3 separate regions of the Homo sapiens genome follow, and regions 1 and 3 are each linked to region 2. Evidence: promoter capture Hi-C in 16 types of primary human blood cells and fetal thymus (Javierre and others, 2016). All regions are on one chromosome and are shown on one strand. Each heading gives the region's core, a stretch centred on a gene start or on the middle of the fragment in contact. The rest is flanking DNA. Distances are from core to core; before and after follow the strand shown. Region 1 has its middle 26 kb from the start of FGF12. Region 2 holds the start of ATP13A5-AS1 (ATP13A5 antisense RNA 1). Region 3 has its middle 50 kb from the start of FGF12.

The links. Contacts are between HindIII fragments. The CHiCAGO score rates a contact against its expected background, and 5 or more counts as called.
Region 1: a contact is called between a fragment that was not itself captured here and the fragment with the promoter of ATP13A5-AS1 in region 2, in 1 of 17 cell types (M0 macrophages). The highest score is 6.1, in M0 macrophages.
Region 3: a fragment that was not itself captured here is called in contact with the fragment with the promoter of ATP13A5-AS1 in region 2 in 1 of 17 cell types (M0 macrophages); the score reaches 6.7 in M0 macrophages.

The regions. Positions count from the first base shown.
Region 1 is chr3:192,752,051-192,755,574 of GRCh38, reverse strand. No RefSeq gene overlaps it. Among named protein-coding and RNA genes, the nearest start is that of FGF12, 26 kb to the right of the region's middle. The HindIII fragment of the contact is 720 bases long and covers 920-1,639 here.
Region 2 is chr3:193,305,227-193,308,849 of GRCh38, reverse strand. ATP13A5-AS1 (ATP13A5 antisense RNA 1) reads right to left here and starts at 1,606. Exons shown (of 2, transcript NR_046758.1): 1 at 1,450-1,606. It overlaps ATP13A5 (ATPase 13A5), which reads left to right. Exons shown (of 30, transcript NM_198505.4): 22 at 1,481-1,523; 23 at 3,182-3,291. The HindIII fragment of the contact is 1,083 bases long and covers 1,179-2,261 here.
Region 3 is chr3:192,776,217-192,779,742 of GRCh38, reverse strand. No RefSeq gene overlaps it. Among named protein-coding and RNA genes, the nearest start is that of FGF12, 50 kb to the right of the region's middle. The HindIII fragment of the contact is 956 bases long and covers 922-1,877 here.

The sequences.
Region 1 (3,524 bases), core at 30-2,529, 550 kb after region 2:
ATGTATTGAGCATTTATTAGGAGCAAAGCACTATGATGGGCACTAAGAGAAATATATTGTAGTACGTACCTTTTTTCTTCTTTTGCTCACCTAGCACTTTCTTCTAGAACTGCCCCTTTGTAGGAGCTTCCTACAATTGTCTGAGAATTGCTGCTACCCACCAAACTCACAGGATAGGGTGACTGAGAGAGCTTCCACATCAGTCTCACCCCAGCTATCATAAGCAGCCAAAGGAACCACTTGATGCAAATATGGGAGATTCAGAAATCCTTTAATAGAATCTGCACCATGGTTCATGAAAGAGAGAGAGAGAATATGAATGTGTGTGTGTGTGTGTGTGTGTACTTCGGGTAAAGTGGACACTTGATACCTTCAAATCCAATTTGAATCTTTCCCTGAGAATTTGGCCTTAGAAAAGAAAGTTATCTGTATAAATGGACTGAAATATGTAACACTTGGGAAATTGCAGCAGTTACATTCTGCTACTGAGGAGAGGAGAAAGCCAGTCTGAGGTGAGACGGAAAAGCCAAATCAATATTCAGAAGCCCCTCAAGATATGAAATAGAAAACATCTGGAAAGTGACTTTTTCATTGTTCTTGAGCCCAGCTGCAGTCTTTCTTAGAGTTTCATGATCCACTCCAATGTTCTTATGTTTTTCGGTTGTTAAAGTAGTAGAATTATATTTTTATTCTATGTAACAAAGATTTATAATTAATAAAAAATCAAGATTAAAGACATAAGATTTCTGCTTCTATGAGCAAGAAACAACATTATATTTCCCAAATGACTAATATTAGGCTAATTGCCTAAGGAGTATTATAGAGCTTGTTGAAATGCATATTCTAGGGCTTCTTCACCTGCAGGTTCTGGTATAGGATGGCTGCAATTTAGCCTAGACATCTGTGTTTTTAATAAGCTTTTCAAATGAGTCTGATGCACAGCAAGAATTGGAAATCTCTGGCAGAAATACTTCTGTAAATATTTTGAGAACATGGCAATGTGACTTCAAGATGGTGCAGGCCATGTCAATTATGATACATCAGCTGTATTTCAGTTTGGGTACTGATTAGATGGTAAAATTAAACATTTCCTCTTGTGGAGCTGTTATCCCTTTGATGTGTTAGGAGGAGGAGAAGAGAGAAAGCAATGTAGTCAGACTTGGGGATTGGGGGCGGGGGTGGAAGAACAAGGAAGAACTGAAGATCAGAACTGGGGATGGTATGTAGGAAACTGATAATACATTGTGGGTGGGCAGAGGGAATGGACTCATCCCTCAACTTGACCCAGAAACAATTACAGTGTTAGGCATCCCTGGCCAGAAGCAAGGGGAAAAGCAAAAGCAGTACAAAAGCTCTTTTGATGGAAGAAGCCACTGTCATGCCTCTGTGTCTCTTTTCTTGACCTGGCCACTGCTGCGAAGGTAGTTTATAGATGTAGTGGATGATATTTACCTAATCTTTGCCTCCTGACCTCATGGGATATTGCCAGATGGGTATCTTGGGAAGAATTATTTCCTATCCCAAAATTGGCCCTGCTGTAATTTGCATTTACCTCAGCACCTTTCAGAAGTGCAGGCCATCAGCAATGCATGAAGCAGCTCTAACCACAATCAAGTTACAAGGACACTCATGAGAAGCTTTTCCATCTGAGAAACACAAAGAGCTCCATTGATTTTGCTAACACCCCGGAGGTAAGTGTGAGAGCAACACAAATTGTCTTGGCGGTAGAGTGAGGAGAAGGGATAGCATAAATGATTCTTGAGTTGTTTCCTAGCCTTGCCAAAAAGCATTACTGGGAAATGGAAACTGGATGTGATTAAATTCCCAGCAGCTTAGAAAGTCATTGCAGGAGGGAAACTTAGAGATTATCCAGGGCATAACTCTTTTTACAATTGAGAAACTGAGCTCCTGAGAAAGGAAGTGATGTGTCCCAATTCACACTTCTAGTTGGTGGCAGAGAGTCAAGTTTAGAATTTAGGCCTCCCAACATCGAGCTTAGTGTTCAATAAATGTAACCATGAGTAAGACTTCTGACTGTGTATAGGGCATGCAAATATAGCCAGTCCGAGAAACAGAATTCTAACAACAATTGTATTAGTCAGTTCAGGCTGCTATAACAGAATACCACAGAGTGGATGGTTTAAACAACAGAAACTTATTTCCCACAGTTCTGGAGGCTACAAAGTCCAGGAGCAAAGTGCTTGCTGGTGCCTGCTGAAGGCTTTCTTCCTGACTTGCAGATGGTAAAATGTGACTTTACATGGTGTGTGCGAGGGAGAGGGAGAGGGAGAGCGCATGCACACATGCACACAAGTACACTCTGGTATCTCTTCTTATAAGGACACTAATATCATCAGATCAGGAACCCACCTTTGTGACCTCATTACCTAAACCTAAATTACCACCTTATAGGCCTTATGTCCAAATACAGTCAAATCAGTGGTTAGGGCCTTAACATATGACTTTGGGTGGGATACACAATTCAGTCCATAGCGATGACCATCTTCAGACTAGCCTGCATCCTCTGTCCTTGGTCACATTGATGATTTAAATGGAGGCAGGTACTTGCTCTCACTGCCAGCAACAAAGACACTGCTTTTGAAAGGAAGAGGATGCAAAAATACTTATCAATAGTGACTTTTTTTTTTTTAATTTCACTTTAAGTTCTGGGATACATGTGCAGAATGTGCAGGTTTGTTACATAGGTATACATGTGCCATGGTGGTTTGCTGAACCTATCAACCCGTCATCTAGGTTTTAAGCCCTGCATGCATTAGATATTTGTCCTAATGTTCTCCCTCCCCTTGCCTCCCACCCCCAGCAGGCTCTGGTGTGTGATGTTCCCCTCCCTGTGTCCATGTGTTCTCATTGTTCAACTCCCACTTATGAGTGAGAACAAGCGAGACTTTGTTTTTTTTTTTTTGAGATGGGGTCTCACTCTGTCACCCAAGTTGGAGTGCAGTGGCATGATCTTGGCTCACTGTAACCTCCACGTCCCAGGCACAAGTGATCCTCCCACCTCAGCCTCCTGAGTAGCTGGGACCACAGGCACGCACTATGATGACTGGCTAATTTTTTGTAATTAATGACACTTTTCGTCTATTTTATTTTCTGTGGTGTTTCATTATGAAGACATAAAGGGCCATAGGAAAAATCGGCTCAATACAAGTCAACTAATATTGATGACTCTCTTAGAGGGACAAATGGAGTCACCAATGGTAGTTGATTAGATTGAGTAGTTATACAAATTGAGTAGTTGTGTGGGTGTACAATCCCTTATCTATAATTCTGAAGTCCAAAATGCTCTGAAATATGATAGTTTTTCTGTAAATGTATAGCAAATGCTCTTGGTCACAAAACTTGTCCTGTCCTTATATGAAGTTGTTTATACTCTTTACTTAGCCCACTTATTAAGAATATTCATATGTTTTCTGAAGAAACACGAAAGCTTTCAATATTGGGTTCCTGCCCCAGATCCTGCTGGGGTGTTTTTAATATAGTAAGACAGACACTGAACTATCTTT
Region 2 (3,623 bases), core at 357-2,856:
TTTTCAAATGCCTGAGAAATTTTGCCAACTAAAATGCCTAACTTTGAAAAGCCATATTCCCCTTAAAAAATGAATTCAGGAAGACACACACTGCCTCAGAATGAGCTGTCTTCTCAACATCCCAATCTTCCTCCTCATGCCTTTGTCATTGGCAATGTGCATAAGGCTGTCTGCATTCTCTTTCTGAATTCAGGGAATACTAGAAGATGATAAGATTCTTGATGTGATATAGAGACTAAATATGTGCTTTAAGCCTGAAAGAAGGAGCCATTTTTCAACAATTGTGGGTAGTCATGACATGAACATATATAGCATGATTATTTTCATCTACACAGCCCAGTATCGGATTGAACCATAGGGGTGTGCCTACATTTGACTTTTTTTTGTTTTTGAGACAGAGTCTCGCTTTGTTGCCCAGGCTGGAGTGCAGCGGTGCAATATCGGCTCACCGCAGCCTCCGCTTCCAAGGTTCAAGCAATCCCCCTGCCTCAGCCTCCCAAGTAGCTGAGATTACAGGAGCACACCACCATGCCCAGCTGATTTTTTCTATCTTTAGTAGAGATGGGGTTTCACTGTGTTGGCTAGGCTGGTCTCGAACTCCTGACCTCAAGATCCGCCTGCCTCAGCCTCCCAAAATGCTGGGATTACAGGTGTGAGCCACCGTGCCTGGCCACATTTAATTAACTGTTTTTGACCTATAAAAGTGGTTGTTTCTTATGCATTAACTAATAATAACGAAACGCTAACAAAACTTTATTTTTTCTCCTTATTGATTTCATAACTCTGTTTTTAGAAAAATGCAGCTAAGTCTTTAAGAATATTGTCATTTATCAATACTTATAATGTATAACTTATAATAGAAGGCAGGCAGTGTCTTACATCTGAAACTCCTTTTCTTTGGCAGCCGTATTAATTTTTACTCTTCTATTTGTATTGTGCTTGCACACCAAACTGATATAGATGGAAAACATATCTTATTTTCACCCTGACATGCATCAAAAATATGAATATATGTCTCTAGTTATATCTGTTAAACTGTTTTTGAAATTTCTCATCCTGGTATTTGAGCTGTAAATGCTCAGCAACAGTCAGTGACTAAAATGCAGCTGGATTGGGTTATGATCTCTGCATTAGGTTGTGTGGGAAGTGCTCTGCTCATGACTGCATACTCTTAAGCTTGGCCTTGGTGCGTATCATCAAGCAGGACTTCTTTTAAAGTGTGCAATCACTGTTTTGCCGATGTCCTTGGTTATATCACTACCATTTCAATGTGATTGATTGAAACAACTTAAATAACGCAACTGCCTTTTCCCTCTGGGAATATGTCTCTCCAAACCATTTTTCTTCAGCCTGATTCCAGGTGTGTTCAGGGGACACACACATACACACAAATCACATGTGACTTAGTTATGATGGAAAATATTCAAGTGAGCTGTTCATTTTTCTTACCTATTAATCCTTCTTCTCCTGTCTCCCGCAGTTATTATGTGGGCATGTGTGGAGATGGAGCTAACGACTGTGGGGTGAGTAGAAATGGCTTTTGCTCAGACAAGCCACTCACTAATATCCCTCTGGAGGACCTCAGGCTCTCCTGGGGTTTGTCTCTTCATCCTTCCACCAGCAACCATTTGATTATTTTGCTGTTTATATCCACCTCTACCTGAGTGTGGGTTGGAAGCGGAGGGGAGTAAAGGGAGATGAGACACTTCCGATGCTTTCTGGAAACTCCTAGAATAATAAACACAAAGGAAGGCTACTTAGACTCCCATATTTCAGGTTCCAAAGATGGAACTTTACAAGTCTATCTGCTTTAAATCTTTCCTGTTATCAGTAATGAAATGATTTCTCAAGGAGGTGATTTCTTCCCCCCTCCCAAGGTCACACAACTGATAAAGACTCAATGAAACGAAGTTTGAAACTGATGATTAAAGTTTTGAATTATATGTAAATTATATTTATTCCTGCCAAACTTTCATTCTCTGGTTAGTTTTTAAGTTTGCTTCACCCAGAACTCTTTCACTCAGTAAAATCCTAGACCAAACTATTTAGTTATTTTATGCTATAGAAAAAGCTAAATAAAATGATTATCAGCAAATTATTTTTCATATGCAGTAGAAGGGCAGTGAATGTTTTATATTCTGAGTTTTAAAGACATGAAGGAAACAAATAGTCTACCTTCAAGATTATGTACTTAAGGAAATATTTCAGTAGCTGATTTATGGGACAAGAAGTGAGGAAGATTTCTTTGTATTTCCAAAGCTTATTAGAGATTTAAGATCTTGGTATTTGTTTTATTTCTCTCTTAAATATTATTTCCAAATTTCTGTGAAAACTGTGTTTATAGCTAGAAATTTTTATAGCTAGAGATGTTTTTTGCTTTATGTTTCATGAGAAAAAGCTAATTTTTAGTCTGTTCTTTCAAATCTAGAATACGTATCCTCTCACATTAATTATGTGGCGTTTAGAATAAAACAAAAAAATCAAATGCAAAAAGGGACATAGTCTCTGCCTCCTAAAGAGTTCATTGTCTGATGAAGAAAGAATCATGAATAAAACTAACCCTAACATAAAGTAGATGGTCCTAAAGTACATAATAGAGATACGAACTAGAGATCAAAGAGGAAGAAGAAAATGTCCTATTATTTATTAAACCTGAATCTAGTATGTACTCATGGCGCCAGGTACTCTGTAGTTCTGTGGAACTACAGATATATAAAAGTTCATTTTATGCCCACACAATTCTTATAGGATCGGCCTAGGAATTCTTTCACCTTTGTTCATGAAGATTCCCACCAGGTACAAGAACTGAAACGGTGAAGGTCCCCAACCAACGTCCATCCAAATTCTGTCATCTTTTTAATTGAGTTTTTGAATGAGGGCTTCCATCTCCTTTTCACATCTATAATCCCCACAGGCAGGGCCCTTGTATGCACATGCCCACATGCACACACGCATGCATGTACACACACCACTTTTCTACCTCTGGGTCATTGTTTAGTTAGTGACTTTGTGGATCAGGGGAGAGAGGGCACTCCAGGTGGAGGGACAGCATTAAACAGAGACCCAAAGATGAAACAGTACAGTGTTATACCTTTATGATGTGAAGAACAGCCTCTTGGTGTTTTAAGAGGTAAAGCCTAACCTGAAAAGTCATGGGTGAGACATGGGCTTATCATTCCAGGCTTTGAAAGCGGCTCATGCAGGCATTTCATTATCAGAGCAGGAAGCATCTGTGGCATCCCCTTTTACCTCTAAAACAACCAACATCCAGTGTGTGCCTCATCTCATCAGGTAAGTCATTTTTTCCTCTTCCAGCCCTACAATCAATGGGCCCATTGTCTGGCTCTGCAGACAGAATTCAACTACAAGCTAAAGTGATAAATGCTGCAACAGAGGAATGGGTGAAGTGCTATTGGAGAACCAATGAAGGGGGCCATTAGTGTTACTCAAGAGTGCTGGTAAAAGCCACAGAAAAGTGACTTTTGCTGAGCCTTAAAGGATAGGTGGGTATCATGTAAACAGTTGAAAGCTTGACTTGATGTTTTAAAACTAATTGTATTTCTTACTTTTTCTCTCCTCTATTTGGTATGTTGGATGCTTCCTGTAACATTTCTCTCAGGAAT
Region 3 (3,526 bases), core at 150-2,649, 530 kb after region 2:
GTGAGATAATACTTCCAAGAGTAAGCATATAGTTATGGGCAGATAATGAAAATACAGTTCCTATATAGTGTTTTCAGACAGTCTTTATTGTGAAATATGCCATTAAGTGAAATACATACAAATGTAAATATGCAGCTTCACGTTAACAAATTTTTGTAAATGTGAACACCCATTTAACCACCACTGAGGTCAAGAAACAGAACTTATCCAGCACCCTCAGCCCATCTATGCTTCTTCCCAATTCCAACCTTCTTTTCCCCTAATAAATATAACTGTGTCCAATTTTATGATAATCTCTTCTTTTTCTTTTCTTTATGTTTTTTCTGTAGCCCTCTGCATTTTTAGGTGATTAGTTTGACTGTGTTTTAACATTTTGTATAAATGGAATCATTTTTTCATGTTTGGTTTCTCTCACTCAATTTTATGTTTGTGAGATTCACCTATGGTGTTTCAGGAAGCAGTAGTTTGTTAACTTCCAATGCTGTCTGATATTCCACTATATAAACATGCCACTATTTATTTAACTATTTGCTGTTGATGGATATTTAACTCGTCCCCAGTATTTACTTATTAATAATACTATTGTGGATATTTTCATCCATGTCTCCTAGTACTCATACCTTCAAACCTTTTGGACATAAAACCAAAGTAGATTGTTACTTAAAAATGTTTCAAATATTTTCTCCCACTCTGTGACTTGCCTTTTCATTCTCTTTCATATTAAAATGAAATTAAGACCTCTGCTTATGTTTTGAAAAGCAGAGGTCTTAATTTTGTTTTAATATAAAGTATATCAATCTTTTCACACTGTTTATGTATCCCAGAACTTAAAGTAAAATAAAATAAATAAATAACAAATTAAAGAAATTTCTTCCTAACTTGATAGTTGAAGTCATTCTTCTATATTATCTTTTAAAAGCTTTATGATTTTTCTAATTCGAATTTATGTCTACAATCCATCTGGGGACATTAGGGTTGTTTCCAGCTTTGGGCTATTTTTGGCAGTATTTTATGGTTAGGAAGAATGCTGACATGCACATTTCGCACACTTTTTTGTTAGACATATGCAGTTGTTCCTTTTAGGTATATACCTAGAAATAGAATTTTTGACTCGGAGGATAGTAGATCATTCCAGGTATCTAAAGTGTTGTATCACTTTATACTTCCACCATGAATGTATGAGATTTCCAGTTGTCTCACATTCTTACCAACACATTGTGTTGATAGTTTTTTTTTTTTTTTTCTAATTTGTAGTCACTTTGGTGGGTACATACAGGTGTTTCATTATAGTTTTAAATTGCATTTTCTTTTTTTTTTGAAATGGAGTCTCACTCTGTCACCAGGCTGGTGTGCAGTGGTGCCATCTCAGCTCACTGCAATCTCCACCTACTGGGTTCAAGCGATTCTCCTGCCTCAGCCTCCTGAGTAGCTGGGACTACTCAGTCCTGAGACTGCTACTACATGGTGCACACCACCACGCCCAGCTCATTTTTGTATTTTTAGTAGAGATGGGATTTCAGCATGTTGGCCAGAATGGTCTCTATGTCTTGACCTCATGATCCACCTGCCTTGGCCTCCCAAAATGCTTGGATTACAGGCGTGAGCCACCACACCCGGTCTTAATTTGCATTTTCTAATAACCAATGGTGTTTAATAGATTGTCTTACACTTACTGGATATTTTTATATCTTTGTTGGTAAATTGCCTGTTCAAGTTATTGCCCATTTTTGAAATTGTGTTATTTTGTCTTTCTTTATTAATATGTAATTGTTCTCTATATATTTCGGAAACAAGTCCTTTATCTAAAATGTATTTTAAACATCTTTCTCTGCCTATTCTTTCTATCCTCTTAATGATGTATTTGATGAACAGAAGCTTTTAAAGTCCATAAGTTCTCGGCCAGACACAGTGGCTCATGCCTGTAATCTCAGCACTTTGGGAGGCCAAGGCGGCGGATCATGAGGTCAGGAGATCAAGACCATCCTGGCTAACACAGTGAAACCCCATCTCTTCTAAAAACACAAAAAGTTAGCCAGGTGTGGTGGCAGGTGCCTGTAGTCCCAGCTACTCAGGAGGCAAGCTAGTTACTTCCTAGATCAAAAGCAAGCTAGTTACTTCCTAGATACAATGGGGGTAGGAGAATGGCGTGCATTCGGGAGGTGGAGCTTGCAGTAAGCCGAGATCGTGCCACTGCACTCCAGCCTGGGCGACAGAGCGAGACTCCATCTCAAAAAAAAAAAAAAAAGGCCACAAGTTCTCTCGTCTTTTATGATAATTGTTACTTGTGTTCTGTTAAAATTTCTTTACCTGACAAATATGTCTTGAAATTATTCTCGTTTGTTTTTTCTAAAAGCTTTATTGTTTTACCTTTTACTATTTAGATTTATAATCTATCTTAAGTTAAATTTTTATTATAATCTACCTTAAATTAAATTTTTGTATGATGTGAGGTTTGGGATTAAGGTTGTTTTTCTTTTCTATATGGATGTCCAATTGACCTAGTACAATTTATTAAAAGATCATCTTATCCTCTCTGAATTGCTGAGGTACCTTTGTTAAAAACTAAATGACCACACACAAACATACACACAAACACACACACTCATGAACACTTTATTGTGTTTTATGTTTAATGTCTCTCTGCTTATGTCAATGCCACACTTTTAATTACTGTGTCTTTAAAGTCCTGAACTCTAGGGGTGTAAGTCCTTTCTCAAGACAGTCTTGGCTATTGTAGGTTTTGTGTGTGTGTTCATATAAATTTCAGAATCAGTTTTTATCAATATTCACAGATACACAAAGCATGCCAGCACTGATTGTGATGGTGTTAAATCTATAGATTAACTTGGGGAGTGGAACATTTAATAATTTGTAGAAAAGATGCAATCAAAAGATGCAATCTTCCAATTACAATTGGGAAATTTTATCTTCCAATCTATGAACATAGTCTAGTTCTTCATTTATAAGGTCGTCTTTAATTTCTTTCAGATATATTTTATAGTTTTAAGTTAGAAATGTTGCACAAATTTTATTAGACTTAAAAGATATTAGACTTTTTAATGATACTGTTCATATATATATACATATATATACATATATACATATATATACATATATACATACATATATAAATACATATATATGTGTGTATATATATATGTATATATATATATATAAAATTTTCTTTTTGAGATGGAGTCTCACTCTGTCACCCAGGCTAGAGTGCATGGTGTGATCTCAGCTCATTGCAACCTGGGTTCAAGTGATTCTCCTGCCTCAGCCTCCCAAGTAGCTGGGATTACAGGCATGAGCCAATATGCCCAGCTAATTTTTTCATGTTTTTAAAAAAATCTAATTGTGTTAGTCCATTTTGATGCTGCTGATGAAGACATACTTGAGACAGGGAAGAAAAAGATATTTAATTGGACTTACAGTTCCACATGGCTGGAGAGGTCTCAGAATCATGGTGGGAGATGAAAGGCACTTCTTACATGGTAGTGGCAAGAGAAAATAAGGATGAAGCAAA